Linked DNA regions of Homo sapiens: regions 2, 3 and 4 are each linked to region 1. The links are contacts of gene promoters, found by promoter capture Hi-C in blood cells and fetal thymus (Javierre and others, 2016). All regions are on one chromosome and are shown on one strand. The core of a region is centred on a gene start or on the middle of the fragment in contact, and the rest is flanking DNA. Distances in the headings are between cores, read along the strand shown.

Region 1 (4,580 bases), core at 1,643-4,142:
AGAGATGATGGTTTTGGAGGAAAAGGTATCATTGACTTTAAAAAACAAACTATGGTAAAAAACATGGCCAGGTGTGGTGGCTCATGCCTGTAATCCCAGAATTTTGGGAGGCTGAGGCAGGCGGATCACTTGAGGTCAGGGGTTGGAGACCAGCCTGGTCAATGTGGTAAAACCCTGTCTCTACTAGAAATACAAGAATTAGCCAGGCGTGGTGGCAGACACCGGCAATTCCAGCTACTCGGGAGACTGAGGCAGGAGAATCCCTTGAACCTGGGAGGTGGAGGCTGCAGTGAGCCAAGATTGCGCCACTGCACTCCAGCCTGGCTCAAAAAAAAAAAAAAAAAAAAAAAGAAAAAAGAAAAGAAAAGAACAACAACAACAAAAATCCACATAGCATAAAATTTAGCATCCTAGTCATTTAAACTCTACAGTACTGTAATGTTAGGTATATTCACATGTTGCACAATGGATCTCTAGAACATTTTCATCCTGTAAAAACTGAAACCCTATACCCATTGAACACCAACTCCCTATTTCCCCTTCCCCCTAGCTCCTGGCAACCACCATATCACTGATTTTTTTAAAGAGGGCTGTGGGCACAAACATTCATTATATTGTTCTTTGAATGACTAATGCGTTTCCTAATAAATGACAAACACAAAGTAAAAAATTAGTCCATTTTTTAAAAAGACATCATCTGAGACAGCCTGAGGAAGACAAAATCATAGAAGAAGACATGAAAGTTGAGAAATTTGAACAGGAAACAATACTTAAATATTCAATTCTCCTCTCCTCTTCTTTAGGACCCCCTTCATGCTCTCCTCACTGGAAAGTGGAGGAGGGGGACTTCAAGGCCAGAGAGAAATTATTTTCCCATGTCTTGGGCAATGTTCCTGGTGGGTGTGAGGGACGGGTATGAACAAAAATCAGAGCCAGGTGAATACAAGGTCATGTCACTGAAAAGGGGGTGTGCAGAAAGATTCTAGAGGGACACTGTCTTCAGCCAGAACCACACAGGGCAAGAGGGCCTGGGGCTTTAGAGTGTAAGAGGCCAACAAGAGGCTCCTGTGATGTGTAGATATTTATCCATATTCTTATCAACATGCTGAGTGCAGAAACCATTTCCCAAGCCCTTTGATTTGCAGCAAAGCCTGGAGCCTTCCCTGGGACATGAAGCACTATCTGGAGACAGAGCCACAGCCTTTGCCCCTCAAATGCCAGGCTGGTCCACAATCCCATGCCTCTACTCATGCTCTTCCCTATACAATACCCTCTCTGGCTAATAAACTCCTATTCATTCTTCAAAACCCAGACCAAATTTCACCTCCTCTGTGAAGTTTACCAGTTTTCTCCAGGAAAAGTTAGATCGTTCCTTTTTCTGTCCTCCCACAGTATTTCATCCATATCTCATATTACTGTCTTCACATCTGTTTCCCCTATCAGACCATGAACTCCTCAAGGGCTCCATCTTATTTATTTGTTTTCCCAGGACCTAAGCATGTCAATACATAATAGGTGTTGGGTGCATGCTGAATGAATAAAACTCCTAGAGCAGAGAAATTCAGCATCTGGAGGTTGCAGAGGGAGAGGGCAGAGATAGTCCCTCGGCAAGCCTCTCACACTGTAATGTGCCTACTATCACCTAGGGATTTTGGTAAATGCAGATTCTGACTCAGAAGGTCATAGAAGGGGCCTGAAAGTCTGCATTTCCAGTAAGCTCCAGGTGATGATGATGTTGCTGGTCTGCAGACCACACTCTGAGTACCAAGGCCTTCCAGACTTTGGTTCTCAATGTCGCTGAGCAGTCACCAAGGAGATAGGGGGAAGGCCTGAGAAGGGATGAAGTCAGTGAGATTCTCTTCCATGATTGTAAAGAGCCCTGTGGAGGGTGGTGGAGTGAGCCAATAGGAAAGCCATAATTCTTGCCCCATCACCTGCAGGAACACTCTCTTGATCTTTTGAGTGACTCCAAGATCAGGATGAGAATGAAGAGATAGCTCTTATCAAGCCCTCTAGAGCGGAAATAATCTACTTCAACTGAAAGATTTGAGGCACACAATTGCATAAAAAACAAATATAATTTAACCACCCCATTCCCCCAAAATGAAGCCTGCCTACTACCGCTGCATACAGGTCACACACCTGCTTGAGAGCCAGGTGTCCACAGGGCACTTAAGACAGCTAGGACTAGACATTGAGGGCAAACTAGATGGTCGGATCTGCTGCAGATGGCAGGCATGAGATGCTGGAAATGAGATGAAGACCTGACAGCTCCGGCTTAGGGAACCCCTTAAAACACTGCAAAATCTCCACTATAGTGGAGAGGCCAGATTTCATCACACTGTCTCAAGAACAGCACAGGGAGCACCATTCTGTCACTGTTTTCCCCCAAATTCCTGTGTGACTCTGGACACATTAAATTGCTTAAGTCTCAGTTCCTAAACAAGGTGGATAAGAGAGGTCTATGGTACCTTCCAGCCCTAAGAGTTTATGATTCTCTGACATAGTTTTCAGACACAGAAAAGCCTTTTTCCCCCACAGTGGTGGGGGGAGGCTTAATTACATTCTCTCTTATACCAAACAAGAGGAGTGTGCCATGGGGTGGCTAAAGCTGGCACCAGAAAGTGCCTGATAGAGACAAGTCTAAATCCAGTGTTAAGCTTTCTGAGAAGACGTTAGGAAATTTCATCATCAACTTTGCAGAAACCAGGAAAGATGAAAGTTGACGAGTCTTACCTGCCCAGTGCCTTGTCTTTTCACGGCAGCCAGGGAGTTGCTCTGCTTGGAGGAGCTGGTCTTTTATACCTTCCAGCAAGAATTCACTTCTGGGAAAGGCCCAGAAGGAAAGATTTTGATGTGGCTTGGAGGAGACGCTGAGGCTTAGCAGGAAAGACTGTGTGACTCCGGGCAGATACACCAGGAAACTGCAGAATGGCAGGGATTGGTTGATGCAATAGCACTGACTGTGGGTGAAGCAACTCCTCTTTCCATTTTCTAGCTTAAATGCATGATCCTGATCTAGTTCCGGAAGGCAAAAACTGCATGCCCTGAGCACATTTGTCCCTTTTAAGCTCCTAATGGGATCCGAATAGCTCTTAGAATTATGAACAATTATTAGGTTGGTGCAAAAGTATTGCAAAAACCGCAATTACTTTTGCACCTAGCTAAATGGTTCTCCTCCCCATTCATATATTCACTGCCCTTTGATCCCTCCCTTACATTCCACCCAATTTACTGTGGAATCCAGTGGATTCATCTTTTGGATTTAAAGTGATCAATAAACATTAATTTTTTTGGTCAAAATTTCAAAATACTTTTGGCCACCAAAGGGTGAGAAGAGCCCTAAGCTTTCATAGTGGGTTGCAGTCCCTGCCTCTGCCATTGTATGGCTCTAGGCAAGTCACTTCACCTTCTGGTGTCTCAAATTTTCTAGTATTGAAATCAATGGTTGGTTTTGGTGATTATTATGATTCTATGACTTCATGCCTTCTATAGGGTGACCCATTTAAAAAACTCCAGAATCTGGGAGGCCAAGGTGGGTGGATCACTTGAGGTCAGGAGTTGGAGACCAGCCCAGCCAACATGGTGAAACCCTGTCTCTACTAAAAACACAAAAATTAACCAGGCATGGAGGTGCATACCTGTAATCCCAGCTACCTGGGAGGCTGAGGTGGGAGAATCACTTGAACCTGGGAGGCAGGGGTTGCAGTGAGCCAAGATCATGCCATTGCACTCCAGCCTGGGTGACAGGACGAGACTCTGTCTCAACAAAACGAAACAAAACAAAACCACCACTATCGTATAAATTATTGACCTAAAGCTCAAGCATAATGTTACATACCTTTCCTACCTCAATGACTTTGGAAATTCAAGTTCATTAGATTCATACAAGAAGGAAAAAGGAAGATTCCGAGAAAACAAAATTTCATGAAAGTATATTTTACAGACAGACAATTTAAAACATAATAAGCCTCTTTATGAAATTATACTTTGAGTTGAAAATACTCTGGGAGCAACTGTCAGAAATTTATCAACCCCAAAACAGACTTCTTGGTTCGCCTTCAAAAAAGTGATATTTCCTTTCTCTAGATGGTGGAATATATCTAAAAACTACTTCTCTCGTGATGAATCCAGGCAAATAAGCTGGGCATCTCGGAAGAAGGCAGCTGTCCAGGAGAGGTGAATGAGACATCAGGCTCTTCTTGTTTTCTTTGAAACACACTTCAGCTCCTTAGCCAAGCATTGTTTTTCTGTGTCTGACCATTCCCTGAACTTTGGCACATGTTTCTCAAGGTTCTTGCCTCTGAGTTTTATGCTTAATATGTTCAGGAAGCTGTGTTGTTAGGCAGATCTTGACCTAGTTGGTTCTGAATAATCTGAAGATGGAACTTCCTTTTAGAAGACCCTATGGGATAACATTGCTTCCTATGTACAAAATATAGTGACTTATTGGTCAGGGTAACAGCAAAATACAGGTCTGATTATTCCCGGGTTTTATCATGTTATGACATGATATGATATGTCCTAGCTTTGGTCTTTCTGTAATGGGTCAAATAGGATGGGGCAGTGTCAGCTCCAGC
Region 2 (4,336 bases), core at 1,156-3,655, 200 kb before region 1:
ATTGTTTCTATCATCTGTCCAGGTTTTTTAGTTGTCTTCAATAGGAAAGCTGGTCTTAATTATCAGGCCTGACATTACCAGAAGTGGTCATATCATTAAAAAAAAAAATTCTTACCTCTTTACCCTTCCATTTTTCCTATTTTTTCTTTAGTCCAGTATTGGATATGCTGAGATGAACTTCTCTCTCTGTTTTTTTCTTTCAATTTTGTTATACTTTTATCTTTTTTCTATTTTGTGGAATGTTCCTCAGATGAAACTTTCAAATGTTTAATTTTAAAAATTTGGCTACTAAATTTATAATTTCCAGTTGGGCATGGTGGCTCATGCCTGTAATCCCAGCACTTTGGGAGGCCAAGGCGGGCGGATCACCTGAGGTTGGGAGTTCCAGACCAGCCTGACCAACATGGTGAAACCCCGTCTCTACTGAAAATACAGAATTAGCTGGGCATGGTGGCGCATGCTTGTAATGCCAGCTACTCAGGAGGCTAAGGCAGGAGAATTGCTTGAACCCGGGAGGTGGAGGTTGCAGTGAGCCGAGATCGCGCTATTGCACTTTAGCCTGGGCAACAAGAGCAAAACTCCGTCTCAAAAAAAAAAAAATTATAACTTCTAACAGCTCTTTTTTATTCTATTCTATAATTGTTCCTTTTTGGGGGAACTTGCTGTTCTTTTATATGGATATAATATCTTCTTATAGCTCTCTGAGGATACTAAATGGAAGGGCTGGTTTTGAAGTTGTTTCCCCACAACATATGTCAGTTTCCTCTACGTTCTTTCTGGTTTTTTTTTTTGGTTGTTGTTGTTTTTGTTTTTTTTTTCCATTGGCTTTCTTCCCTATTCAAGAATGGAGCATTAAAAAGCTTACAGAAGCTCTGTTGACAAGATTTGTCAACTGTTGGGCTTAGCTTAATGTTAATCAGCATGTACCACCAATTTTTTTTATTTATTATTATTTTTTTTTTGAGGCAGGGTCTCACTCTGTTGCCTAGTCTGGCACGATCATAGCTCACTGCAGCCTTGATCTCTGGGCTAAAGTGATCCTCCCACCTCAACCAACCTACCCCCAACCCCCCAAAGAAGTAGCTGGGACTACAGGCACATGCCACCACACCTAGCTGATTTTTTTTTACTTTTCAAAGAGATGGAGTCTCACTGTGTTGCCCAGGCTGATCTCCAACTCCTGGTCTCAAGCAATCCTCCCAACTTAGCCTCCCAAAGTGCTGGGATTACAGGTGTCAGCCACCATGCCTGGCCTTAAGGCACTTCTTAGTGCAACTTCAGGTTGGGGTATTGAAGCAGTTGGATTCATGACCCAGTTACTGAACTCTAGTCAATAAGTTGTCAACCACAGGCAGTCAAATATTCCCTTCCATCTCTGCTTGCACACTAGGTACCTCTAGCCTGAGTTTATCTCTTCTTTTAGGGCTTTGCTGAATGTGTCAAGAAATAGTCAACACCTTGTGATTTTTGTCAATCTTTTCCCCCATGGTTGTATGTTCACTTGGCATGTGTGGTCTGACTTCCATGGTGTCACAGGTAATGATTTTACCAAATATGTTGGCATGGATAACAAAGATCACCAACATTCTAGCTTGCTGTGTCCTAACCATGTGCTGCCTGACTGCAAAGCCAGTAGCACATATAATCATGTATCCCTTAATGACAGGAATGTATTCTGAGAACTATGTCATTAGTTAATGTTATTGTTTTATAAACATTGTGAATTGTACTTACACAAACCTAGATGATGTTGCCTACTACATACCTAGGCTGTATAGTATAGCCTATTGCTTCTAGGCTACAAACCCTTACAGCATGTTACTGTATTGAATATTGTAAGCAATTGTAATACAGTGGTATTTGTGTATCTAAACATAGCTAAGCATAGAAATGGTACAGTAAAAATAGAGTACAATCTTACAGAATCATCATCATCTATATGGTCTGTCACTGACCAAAATCAACCAATTATTTTTTTTTTTGGCAATTTGATTGGCAAAACTTTAACTGTTGATAATATCCAGCTTTGATAAAGGTATAGAGAAAAGGAACCTTCTCTATGCTGTAATTGGAATGTAAATTCGTATAGCCCTATAAAGGACAATTGGCATTATTTATAGATAACTAAAATGCTTATGAGTTTTGACTCAGGAACTCTACTCCTGGGAATCTCTCCTGTAGAAATGTGTATATTCCCAAAGGTACTCAAAATAAGTTTGCTATAGTGTTATTTATAATAGCAAAAATTTGAGAAAAGCATAAATGCCTGACAGTGGGGAACCAGATACATTATGACATCTACATAATAAAATACTGTGCAACCATTTAAGAAACTGAAGTAGCTTGATGTGTTGTGACCTGGAAAGACAGTAAGTGTTCATAATGTGTTCAGCAAATGGGTAAGTTGCAACACAATATGTCTAGCACAACCCCCTTTCTAGAAAGAAAGAAAAGAAAGTATATGCTGTAAAATTATAGAAAAAAGTCTGGAGATATACGATATAGCTGATAAATATAACACTAGTTATCTCTCAGAAGATAGAATGTATGGGTGCAGGGGTATGCTTAACTTCTCAATTTGTATATGTATATATAATAGGATTACGGGAAATTTTCACCATCTGTATTCTTCTATGTTTTTCAAATTTTAAAAAATCTAAAAATACTAAAAGTAGTTTAAATACTTGAAGTGTTCCTATAGCAGGAATATAAAAGCCTTAAAGTAATAGAAATGAACAATTTCAGAGTGTTTTTAAAAAATATTTATATCCCAGATAGTAAACTGACTTTTGAGGTTTAGATATGATTGACTCAAGATAAACTTACCCTATACCAAGAATGCCTTTCTAAGATTTCTGAGACTTTCTAGGGTTCACAGTAGCTTTTATTTTTGAGTTTCTGCTTAAATGTAATTCCAGACTTGTCCATATCTGACCTCCCAGGGCTGTTCTTATCTGTCTGTTCCATGCTATACCAGATGCAGAACTTGGCCCACTTTCTTTGACCTCTTCCTCCCTTTAAGCATTATGCTAGGCATGTGTATGTGTAGCACACTTTTATGAAGATGTCGGGAGGCAGAAATACCGACAGAAATATTTAGAATACCGCAAAAATGGAATTAAAAGGCCCCCAGTCACTTTACGGCATCTTTCCTTGTCACTAGTCAATATGGTCCTCTGCCATGTTGCTTTCTTTCCTTGTACTAGCACCAGACCTTCGTTTCTCTGCTTTCTGTTGTTGTTGTTGTTATGGTTGGTTTTTTTTTTCTGCTCTTTCCCCAGGTGCTGAATTCCTGTGTTTTACTTAGGCAAAGAAGGTTAGGTATCTCTTCTATTTTTTGATGTTTTTAAGGCGTCATTTTTCCCAACCAGAACAATCTATCGAGACATATTCCTCAACAAAGACAATTACCTCCCTGAGAGGAACTCTGGTGCCTGCTGTTAAAAAAATAATTTCCTCTCTTTCACTACATGTTATGGTTATAAGTGTAACTGATAAAATAATTAGCACAGTAATTATCTTTATTAACTCTTCCTGTTGTTTTTTTTTTCTAAGTAAAGCCTTATCCTTTGGTCAGTGCAGTTAATAGATGAGTCTTAATTGATGTTGGCTTCCTGCTGTGAAACATAAGAGTTGTGAAATCTTGGCATCATTATGACACCTAATCACATTTTCATTTTATTATGGACAAGAGGAAAATGAGTTATGATTAAGCTAGAACCTCTCTGCTAAAAAAAAAAAAAGTTTTTTAATTAAAGTGTAGGCAGAAATACAATTCATGAAGTTGCAAATGATTCTGCTCTGATAGACCTTGGCCTAGCAGTTGGTCTATGAAAACATGGCTATATGTAAGGTCCCATGGCATTAAGAGACCTTAACCAAAGTCAATGTGTGAGATTAATATACTGCTCATTAAAAACAGTACAGCATATGGTTAGAAAGAAAGCTTTTGGTGTTAGAAAAACCTGCATTAAAACCTGGATTCTGCTCTTTACTGTGTGACCTTGGACGTGTTTACCTAACTGAGCTTTGGTGTCCTCATCTGCAAAATGAGGAATATGGATTATAATGATATAAATCATAGAACTGGCTTAGTATTATGCTGGGTTACATAGTAAGTAGTCCATACATAGTAGCAATAGAATTTTAGCTATTTTTATAACATTTACTTTTTTTTTTTTTTTTTTTTTGAGATGGAGTCTCGCTCTGTCGCCCAGGCTGCGGTGCAGTGGCGTGATCTTGGCTCACTACAAGCTCCACCTCCCAGGTTCACACCATTCTCCTGCCTCAGCCTCCCGAGTAGCTGGGACTACAGGCGCCCGCCACCATGCCCGGC
Region 3 (4,423 bases), core at 1,312-3,811, 170 kb before region 1:
TAACCTGTGATAGCATGTTCAGTGGGCTAATTATGTGTTCCATAAAATAATGTATTCTTTTAAGTTTTAATCTTATTATCATAAAGCTCTACATAAAGTTTGTGTTTTCATAAAGGAAAAAGTAAACAAACAGCACCAGTTGGCATTCTCTTTGCCATTCATTATTTTATCAATCTTTATCATGTCTTCTATTGTTCTATCGTTTTTCTCACTCTGGCAAATCTTACCAATCTATTTTGTTTTTTAAACTATTAACTTTGATCCTATCATTATACATTAAGTATTGCTTTTACTTTGTGAAGAGGGAATTTCATCATAACTTAGCAAAGACTTTCAGCCTTTACAGTGGATAGTTTTATGTCATTGGCAATTTTTAGTCATCTCCTTTCTGTCCACATATGCTTCGTTTAGGTCTTTAAATAAGTTTTTTCACTAGCTTAGTATTCATTTCTGGATACTTTCCATATTGGTTTCGGTTTATTGTCTGTTAATCAATTTTTAATCTACAACAGTTATTAAAGTTTTTCAACAGCCTCTTGTGAGAAACTTTTTTAAAAAACAAGCTTCTGAATTATATATATGGTTTTCTTTATCCATTCTTTGATTAATTCTTTCAAAGAACTCTAGTGTGTTAGGGACACATGGTTTACACTTCTGGAATCCATGCTGTTTGTTCCTTATCAGATTACACTGCAACTCAGGTTTACTCAACTGTGGTTAGCCAAGCCTTCCATTTAACTGAAGTTCTGTTTATATCTTCTAGAGATGTGCTTTGCTGAACTTTAGCTTTCTCAATGGAGAGCTGTACCCTGGTGTCAGAAATCTAAAAGTAGTCTTCTCTTCGGTTTTGAGGAATTCTGGATAATTCTGTGAATCCTTCTACCTATGAATTGTTGTAGTTACCTGTTAAGATTATTTGTCTCCAAAGATTGCAGTCAAATCTTTTTAAACTTGAGGATGCTATGTATGTACCAAAAAATGTACAGTTATGAGAACAGTGATTTAAAAAAAAAAAAACCATGTTGTTATTTCTGGAATTCTGAGATAATTTCTGAAAATCAGACATTTCTTTACATTTTGCTCAATTAATTCAGTGTATAGACAATTTCATAAGGACCAAACTGACTGAATTTTCATTTGTATTATGATTTTAATTTTTTCTTAGACAAAAGGAGACCCCCCCCCTTGACAATGTGCCCCCAATTTGTTGAATAGTAAAATAGACCATAGAATTGCCTCTAAAAGAATTTTGTCTCAACTTTATCTGATGGCTGTATGTATAAGGGCATTAAAAGTCAAGTTTTGATGATTTTTGTTCTGATTCTTATCTCTCAGTCTTTGTGCTTAGGTTTCTCCTTGCCAATAGTAATGATTCATTTTACAAGGTATGTTCAAAATTATAAATTGTAATATTCTTCTAAAAGCGCTAGAAGAAAGTCAAAATAGAAGAGGAAATGGTGTTGCCTTTGCCCTTCTATTTCTCAAGTCCTCTCTTTTCCATTTCAGAACATCTCATTTTAGTCCTGTCCAAATTTTATTATTTTCCCCAAGAGTTGCTTCTTTATATTACTGTATCATTCCAACTCTTTTTGCAGGTTTGTCATTGTCTTTAAAGTATCTAATTCTTAGGTTTCCCCTATATTTGCCAAAATATTTGTCTCTTCCTCTTCTCTGATTTCCTTCCACTCTTTTATTTTTCTTTTGTTTTCCACTGAATTTGTATATTTAGGATTACCTTCCACTGCTATTCTGGATTGGTATTTTAATAGCCATCAAAAATCTAGGTCAAGGAAACTTTTCAGATCTCCTAATTACCTGGCGGTGACTGATAAAAAGGACTAAATGATAGTGATTACTTCTTACTGTTTTTATTCACATTGGAATATATTCTTTCTCTCCTGGTTTATACCATTGTAGAAGGAAAAGTGTTGGAGCTGATTCATTGTCTAATTTCCGGTTTTCTGGTTTGGTTACCTCTTATCAATGTTTGTTTCTTTTATTTCAAGCAATATTATTGCCACCACTTCTAAAAGTGATTACAGTCATATTTTATTTCTCAATCCTGTTTATCATTTATAAATATTATTTCAAGGGACAACTCAAAATTAATCTTTCTTCTCAGAGCAAAAGAGTAAGAGGATCTTAGTGTAGCACAAAGAGGTCACCAATTCTCTATCACACTCTTCCTGCTCAGCTGGTTATCCTGGATTTTCTTAGACTCCAGGATAAAGTTATGATCAAGATTAAAATGTATTCCCCTGAGTCTTCAGACCTACAATGGGAGCAGCAGTAGTTTAGCACTTGGCCAGTAGCAGTGAGCACCTCCTGGAGAAATTCCCCTTTGCACAATGTCTCTGCTTGCCTCTTAATTTTATCTGTTAGTCAACACATAGTTATCCCATCTTTGCATTTTTACATTATTTGTAGGCAGGACCTGAAACTTTAAGTTTTTGGCCAAAGCTAGAGAGACAGTCCTATATTGCAAACTATAGTTGACAAAGTGTCTAAACTGTGACTTGGGGGGCTTGACTTTTAGTTCTACACACAGAAGAATATGCTGACACTAAATATTAATAGTTGTGTGATTTGGGACAAAATAGTGTTTACCTTTCTAGGCTTCAGATTCCCAGGCTGTGAAGTTGAGGAATTAAAATACAATATTGCCAAACTTGTGCTATTTACATGCACTTTACATGTATTAGCTCACTGAATTCTCATAATAACTTTATGAGAGAAGAAATTCAGTACCTTTATTTTTTACATTTTACAGATAAGGAAACTGAGGATTAAAATGTTAATATCTGTCAAAGTATTAACTATTATTATCTAGTAAGTGGTGTTGCTGGAACTTGAACTGCAGAGCCCATGCTTTTCCAGCTCTAAAATTCTGTATATGTAAGAATGCCACAGATGAAGAGAATATCAGTATAGGCTTTGTATAAAAAATTTATTTCCAGAGTAGAAAGGAATGAAAGTGATGAGTACCATTATCTGAGATTGATCCAGAGTGCATCATATCCTGCTACCTTCTAATAATCTCTGTATTTCTTCTATTTCTCTCATTTTGTGTTTCATTTGCAAAGATACTAGTAAATCACAATGTCTGTTTACTCAGTATCTCCCTTATAATGTAACATATTTCATCACCTTTCTCTTCATTTTAAAAGTCTAGGTTAAGTTATCTAATATAGGAACCTGAAATAATAAACACTGACATAGCATGCATTTAACTGGCATTGCTCAAGTTAGAGTTCCTTCTATGAAGAAATTTTGAAATAGAAATTTTGTGATTTTGTTTTGATGCCAGCCTTTAGAAGAAGTACAGAGTAGATATTCAAAGTATGATCAACTCTGTTACTTATGTAAATGAAGGTGCAGAAAATCCAATTAATTAATTACTGACTTTGGAATGTAGTCAGGAGTACACCATCAGACACAGTTCCTCTGTGCGCACAAACATTCTTAGGTGCTTGTCTCCTGTGATCCCAGCTCAGAGCCTTCCTGACATGGCTTTTAGAGTCTTCTATTCTAGACTTGGCCTTGTTGTTAGAAGCCTGGCACCCACAGAATAGAAGGAAGCTGCAGAATATTTTTAATGATAATTTTTCAAGTTAAGAAGATATCTCTTTTATAAGTTATCATCAAACAGATTTATATATATCACAGTTCTGTACTTCAACAAAAATTTGTATCCAACAAAAATTTGTAAGTTCAGCTTCGTACATATCTGGTTAATAGGAGGTAATGAATGAAATATGTCCCTGGCTATTGCTCCCATCAGGCTATTTAGTGTTCATTTGGCAGACTCTCGGTTGGTGGGGGGCGGGGCTGGGGGGGTAGGTACTTCCTTGGGTTTTGTATTATAGTAAAGTGTGTATGTATATATGTGTGTGTGTTGTAATTAGCCCAAAACTAGCCATAATTTACTTTACTTTTTTTGTTTCTTTGTATTTTGAGATAGGGTCTTGTTCTGTCTTCCAGGATGGAGGGCAGTGGCACAGACACGGCTCACTGCAGCCTCAACCTCCTAGTCTCAAGCGATCTGCCCACTTCAGCTCCCCCAAGTAGCTGGGACCACAAGCACGGGGCACCATGCCCAGCTAATATTTCAATTTTTTGTAGAGACAGGGTTTTGCCCTGCTGTCTGCAGTATTAAAGGTATTCCCGGGCCAGGTGTGGTGGCTCATGCCTGTAATCCCAGCACCGTGAGAGGCTAAGGTGGGAGGATCACTTGAGCCCAGGAGTTGGAGACCAGTCTGGGCAACATAGTGAGACCGTCTAAGAAACAAGGTATTCCTGGAGATCATGGTTTTGCTTTTTGTTTTTGTTTTATTAAAAAGTCTTTACATTTTGTTCATTGGAAAGAGTTTATTGGATTTTTTAAATGTTTTTTTCCCTTTTATCCCTTTCAAATTGCTAATTA
Region 4 (4,246 bases), core at 884-3,383, 220 kb before region 1:
AGACGGGGTTCCACCATGTTGACCAGGCTGGTCTTGAACTCCTGACCTCAGGTGATCCACCTGCCTTGGCCTCCCACAGTGCTGGGATTACAGGCATGAGCCACTGTGCTTGGCCCCAAATTAAAATCTTTTTTTGTGTGTGAATTAAGTATTTTTTCCTACTTTTTATTTTTTTCTTGATCTTAGCCTGATATGTGTATATATTTTTTTTCCATTTTGGATTTTTTCTTCAATAGGACTGAAACTCTGTTCATTGTTAGAAAGTCCCAAGATAACTTTTGGCAGGTTTTTGTTTTTTGCAGCCTTTTTTAGCTCTATTTTTAGATCCAAATGTCTTAAATTTATATCACCTCATTTTTTTTTAGCCTGACTGTCAAGATCTAGTATATTGTGTTAAGATAATATTGTAAATTCAGTAGACAAAATATAGGCCCATTATGGTTTGTTGTTGTTGTTGTTGTTGTTGTTGTTGTTGTTGTTGTTGTTGTTGTGAGATGGAATCTCGCTCTGTTGCTCGGGCTGGAGTGCAGTAGCGCAATCTTGGCTCACTGCAACCTCCACCTCCTGGGTTCAAGGAATCCTTCTGCCTCAGCCTCCTGAGTAACCAGGATTACAGGTGTGTCCCCCCAGGCTGGCTATTTTTTTGTATTTTTAGTAGAGACAGGGTTTCACCATGTTGGCTGGTGTTGAACTCCTGACCTAAGGTGATCCGCCCACCTCGGCCTCCCAAAGTGCTGGGATTACAGGCGTGAGCCACTGCACCTGGCCCCATTATGTTTTAAATATATTTGTAGAACACAGAATTTGTCTTTGTTCCTTCATAGTCACATCTGAAATATTTCAGATCTTAAAACTGCACTTGTACACAGTAACTTTTTCATTAACAAATATATCTTGGCCAGGCGCAGTGGCTCACGTCTGTAATCCCAGCACTTTGGGAGGCCGAGGCGGACAGATCATGAGGTCAGGAGATCGAGACCATCCTGGTTAACACGGTGAAACCCTGTCTCTACTAAAAATACAAAAAATTAGCCGGGCGTGGTGGTGGGTGCCTGTAGTCCCAGCTACTCGGGAGGCTGAGGCAGGAGAATGGCATGAACCCAGGAGGTGGAGCTTGTGGCGAGCTGAGATCGCGCCACTGCACTCCAGCCTGGGCGACAGAGCGAGACTCCGTCTCAAAAAAAAAAAAAGTATGTGTGTGTGTGTGTGTGTGTGTGTGTGTGTGTATATATATGTATATAAAGCTGTGTTTTAAACTTTTTATTTCATTATATAATTTTATTTTAAAATAAATTCATAAAGAAATGGAGTATTTCAGAAGTTGATCAACTTGACAAAGGGATTTACATTCCAAAGAAAATTTAGGAACTGTAAGAAAGAAACTTAGGCTAGGCATAGTAGCTTATGCCTGTAATTCTAGCACCTTTGGAAGCTGAGGTGGGAGGATCGCTTGAACCCAGGAAGTCCAGACTGGTCTGGGCAACATAGTGAGAGTCTATCCCTACAAAAACATTTTAAAAATTAGCTTGGTGTGGTGGCATACACCTGTGTCCTAGGTACTTGGGAGGCTGAGGTGGGAGGATAGCTTGAGCCTGGGAGGTCAAGGCTGTAGTGAGCCGTGATCACACCACTACACTCCAGCCTGGGCAACAGAATGAGACCCTGTCTGAAAGAAAGAAATTTGTATTTTATAAACAGGGCAGATATAGATTTTATAGGGGCTAAAGCTTATACAATTTTGAGGGCCTCTTTAAGAGAAAGAATACAAAATTAGTAGAATAAAGTATCCACATCCCACTGAAACCATCTAACAGGATCATGCCTATGGCCATTCCAACAGGAGAGGAAGTCTGATAGAACATATTCTACAGAGAAAAAAGATGGTTTTAACCAATCATGGTGAAACTATCTTACTTTTGGTCAGGTGTGGTGGCTCACGTCTGTAAACCCAGTGCTTTGGGAGGCCCAGGTGGAAAGATCCCCTGAGACCAGGAGTTACCAGCCTGGGCAACATAGCGAGACCCTGTCTCTACAAAAAAACCTTTTTTTTTTTTTTTTGAGATGTAGTCTCACTCTGTTGCCCAGGCTGGAGTGCAGTGGTACAATCTCGGCTCACTGCAACCTCCATCTCCTGGGTTCAAGCGATTCTCCTGCCTCAGCCTCCCGAATAGCTGGGATTACAGGCACCTGCTACCACGCCCGGCTAATTTTTTGTATTTTTGGTAGAGACAGGGTTTCACCATGCTGGCCAGGCTGGTCGAGAACTCCTGACCTCATGATCTGCCCACCTTGGCCTCCCAAAGTGCTGGGATTACAGCTGTGAGCTACCGCGCCCGGCCTACAAAAAAACTTTTTAAAAATTAGCTAATACCTGTAGTCCTAGCTGCTCAGGAGGATCACTTGAGCCCATGAGCTCGAGGTTACAGTGAGCTATGATTGTACCACTGTACTCCCGCCTGGACAACAATGTGAGACCCTGCCTTAAAACAAAAAAAAAAACCTGTACTTTTGTAAGTTAAAAAAAAATCAACAAGCTTCATGGTAGATATTCCTCTGATCATAAGTAAATGTTTTAGCTCCATATACATTTTAATAGTTTGTGTAGGGAGAAAGGTATAGTATCAATAATAAGAATGAAAAGCCTTATAAGCTTGTTTGTTGGATCATGTTCCCATAATAGAACTCCTCTGATAAAATATCTTAACTTTTAGCAGATATTTGGAGGAAATCTCAAATAATGAATGGGTTTAATATTTTAGGTGGATGCCAACATAAAATGCCAGACCAGTTCACGTGAGAATATCTTGCCGTCAGAACAGATGGGATTCCTCATTTCAGAAATGGGGCCTGCTAGCAAGCCTAGTGAAGACACAGGTTTAGCCACTCCAGCCAGATACAGAGAGCACAGAAGCAACTCACAACAAGGAAAGTCCCCTGGTAAGGATTATTGTGCTCTAGAATGCCAGAAGTAGAATCACGCTGTAGAATTAATATATGAATGACATTTTTTCTGGGTCTCCATTTATTATTCATAATTGTATTAGACCTGTCACATTGCTGTTTTTACATAGCTGTAATTTTAACTCTATATTTGTTCTTAATTATTGTTGTGAAGTATGTAATAGTTATTTTCTTAATATTGCATATAATGATTTGGGCTTTGAAAATATAGAACATATTAAGAATAAGCAAAGGAATTTAGATTATTTAACTTGGAGAAGGCAAGGATGAAGGATGATTTAATAAGTATCCTCAGATGCCAGACTTCGAAATTGTAGTTGTACTTACTCTGTTATTAACAGACTCTAGGACAAGAGGGCATGCATTTATATTGTGACAAGAGAAAATCAGATGGAAATTTAGGATATTATCCTGAGCGCATTTTAAAGATACTATAAAGTATGACCCTATACCAATGAATGGTTTGTTATTCTTGTGGTTTGTAAGAACCCAGAATAAGTGATTGTTTTAGGCACATACAGTTGATTCTAATAAGACAAAATCATATTTTTTGAAGAAATAGTAACATCTAATAAAACATGTGTCTCATATCATCCAAAAATCAAGTTACCAAAGTCTGCAGTGGACAATTTTAATATTCTAGAATTATGTTCATGTCAGGGGCATGCAGTGCAGGCAGAATGACAGTGTAGGTTAAAATGACAGACCATCATTTTAACCTACAATAATTTGAAAAATGTTGAGAACTTCTGTGAGAATTTTTCCAAAAAGTAAATTAATAGTGATATGATCATGGTGTAGCTCAGACTCATAGGGTTCTTTCTGCAAAATGTCTTTTAGGCTAAAAACTGTCTATCATTTATTCACTAAATTTAGCTTGCACACTTTTAGTTGATTATATTTTCCAATCCATAATTAAAGACTAAAGATTTCTTACCACTGAAGGTGTTTAACACAATGGCATGAGCCTTGAAGGCAATTTAGATGAGAGAAAGGCAGGAACTAACATTTACCGTATCCATTTTTGTGCCATAGGACAAATCTGTTGGAAGTGGCATTGTCATTTTAAACATCAGGAAATTTAGGCTTAGAGTAAGTAACTTGTTCAAAGTCACATATAAATTTGTTTTATTTTTTCATTTTTTAGAGACAGAGTCTTTCTCTGTTGCCCGGGCTAGAATGCAGTGGCGCATCTTGGCTCACTGCAGCCTCCACCTCATAGATTCCAGCAATTCTCATGGCTCAGCCTCCCGAGTAGCTGGGACTACAGGTGCGTGGCACCACA

Evidence for each region. The method cuts DNA at HindIII sites, captures the fragments that hold promoters and counts their contacts. A CHiCAGO score of 5 or more calls a contact.
Region 2: a contact is called between a fragment that was not itself captured here and the fragment with the promoter of LPO in region 1, in 3 of 17 cell types (M2 macrophages, M1 macrophages and M0 macrophages). The highest score is 8.2, in M2 macrophages.
Region 3: a fragment that was not itself captured here is called in contact with the fragment with the promoter of LPO in region 1 in 2 of 17 cell types (monocytes and M2 macrophages); the score reaches 5.6 in monocytes.
Region 4: a fragment that was not itself captured here is called in contact with the fragment with the promoter of LPO in region 1 in 2 of 17 cell types (M2 macrophages and erythroblasts); the score reaches 5.1 in M2 macrophages.

The regions. Positions count from the first base shown.
Region 1 is chr17:58,236,896-58,241,475 of GRCh38, reverse strand. It overlaps LPO (lactoperoxidase), which reads right to left and starts at 2,892. Exons shown (of 13, transcript NM_006151.3): 1 at 2,737-2,892. The HindIII fragment of the contact is 687 bases long and covers 2,663-3,349 here.
Region 2 is chr17:58,435,753-58,440,088 of GRCh38, reverse strand. All of the region lies in intron 5 of HSF5 (heat shock transcription factor 5), which reads left to right. Among named protein-coding and RNA genes, the nearest start is that of RNF43, 20 kb to the right of the region's middle. The HindIII fragment of the contact is 3,086 bases long and covers 863-3,948 here.
Region 3 is chr17:58,409,417-58,413,839 of GRCh38, reverse strand. The region is part of intron 2 of RNF43 (ring finger protein 43); the gene reads left to right. Among named protein-coding and RNA genes, the nearest start is that of RNF43, 5.9 kb to the left of the region's middle. The HindIII fragment of the contact is 3,991 bases long and covers 566-4,423 here.
Region 4 is chr17:58,457,459-58,461,704 of GRCh38, reverse strand. HSF5 (heat shock transcription factor 5) reads left to right here. Exons shown (of 6, transcript NM_001080439.3): 5 at 2,760-2,937. Among named protein-coding and RNA genes, the nearest start is that of HSF5, 29 kb to the left of the region's middle. The HindIII fragment of the contact is 807 bases long and covers 1,730-2,536 here.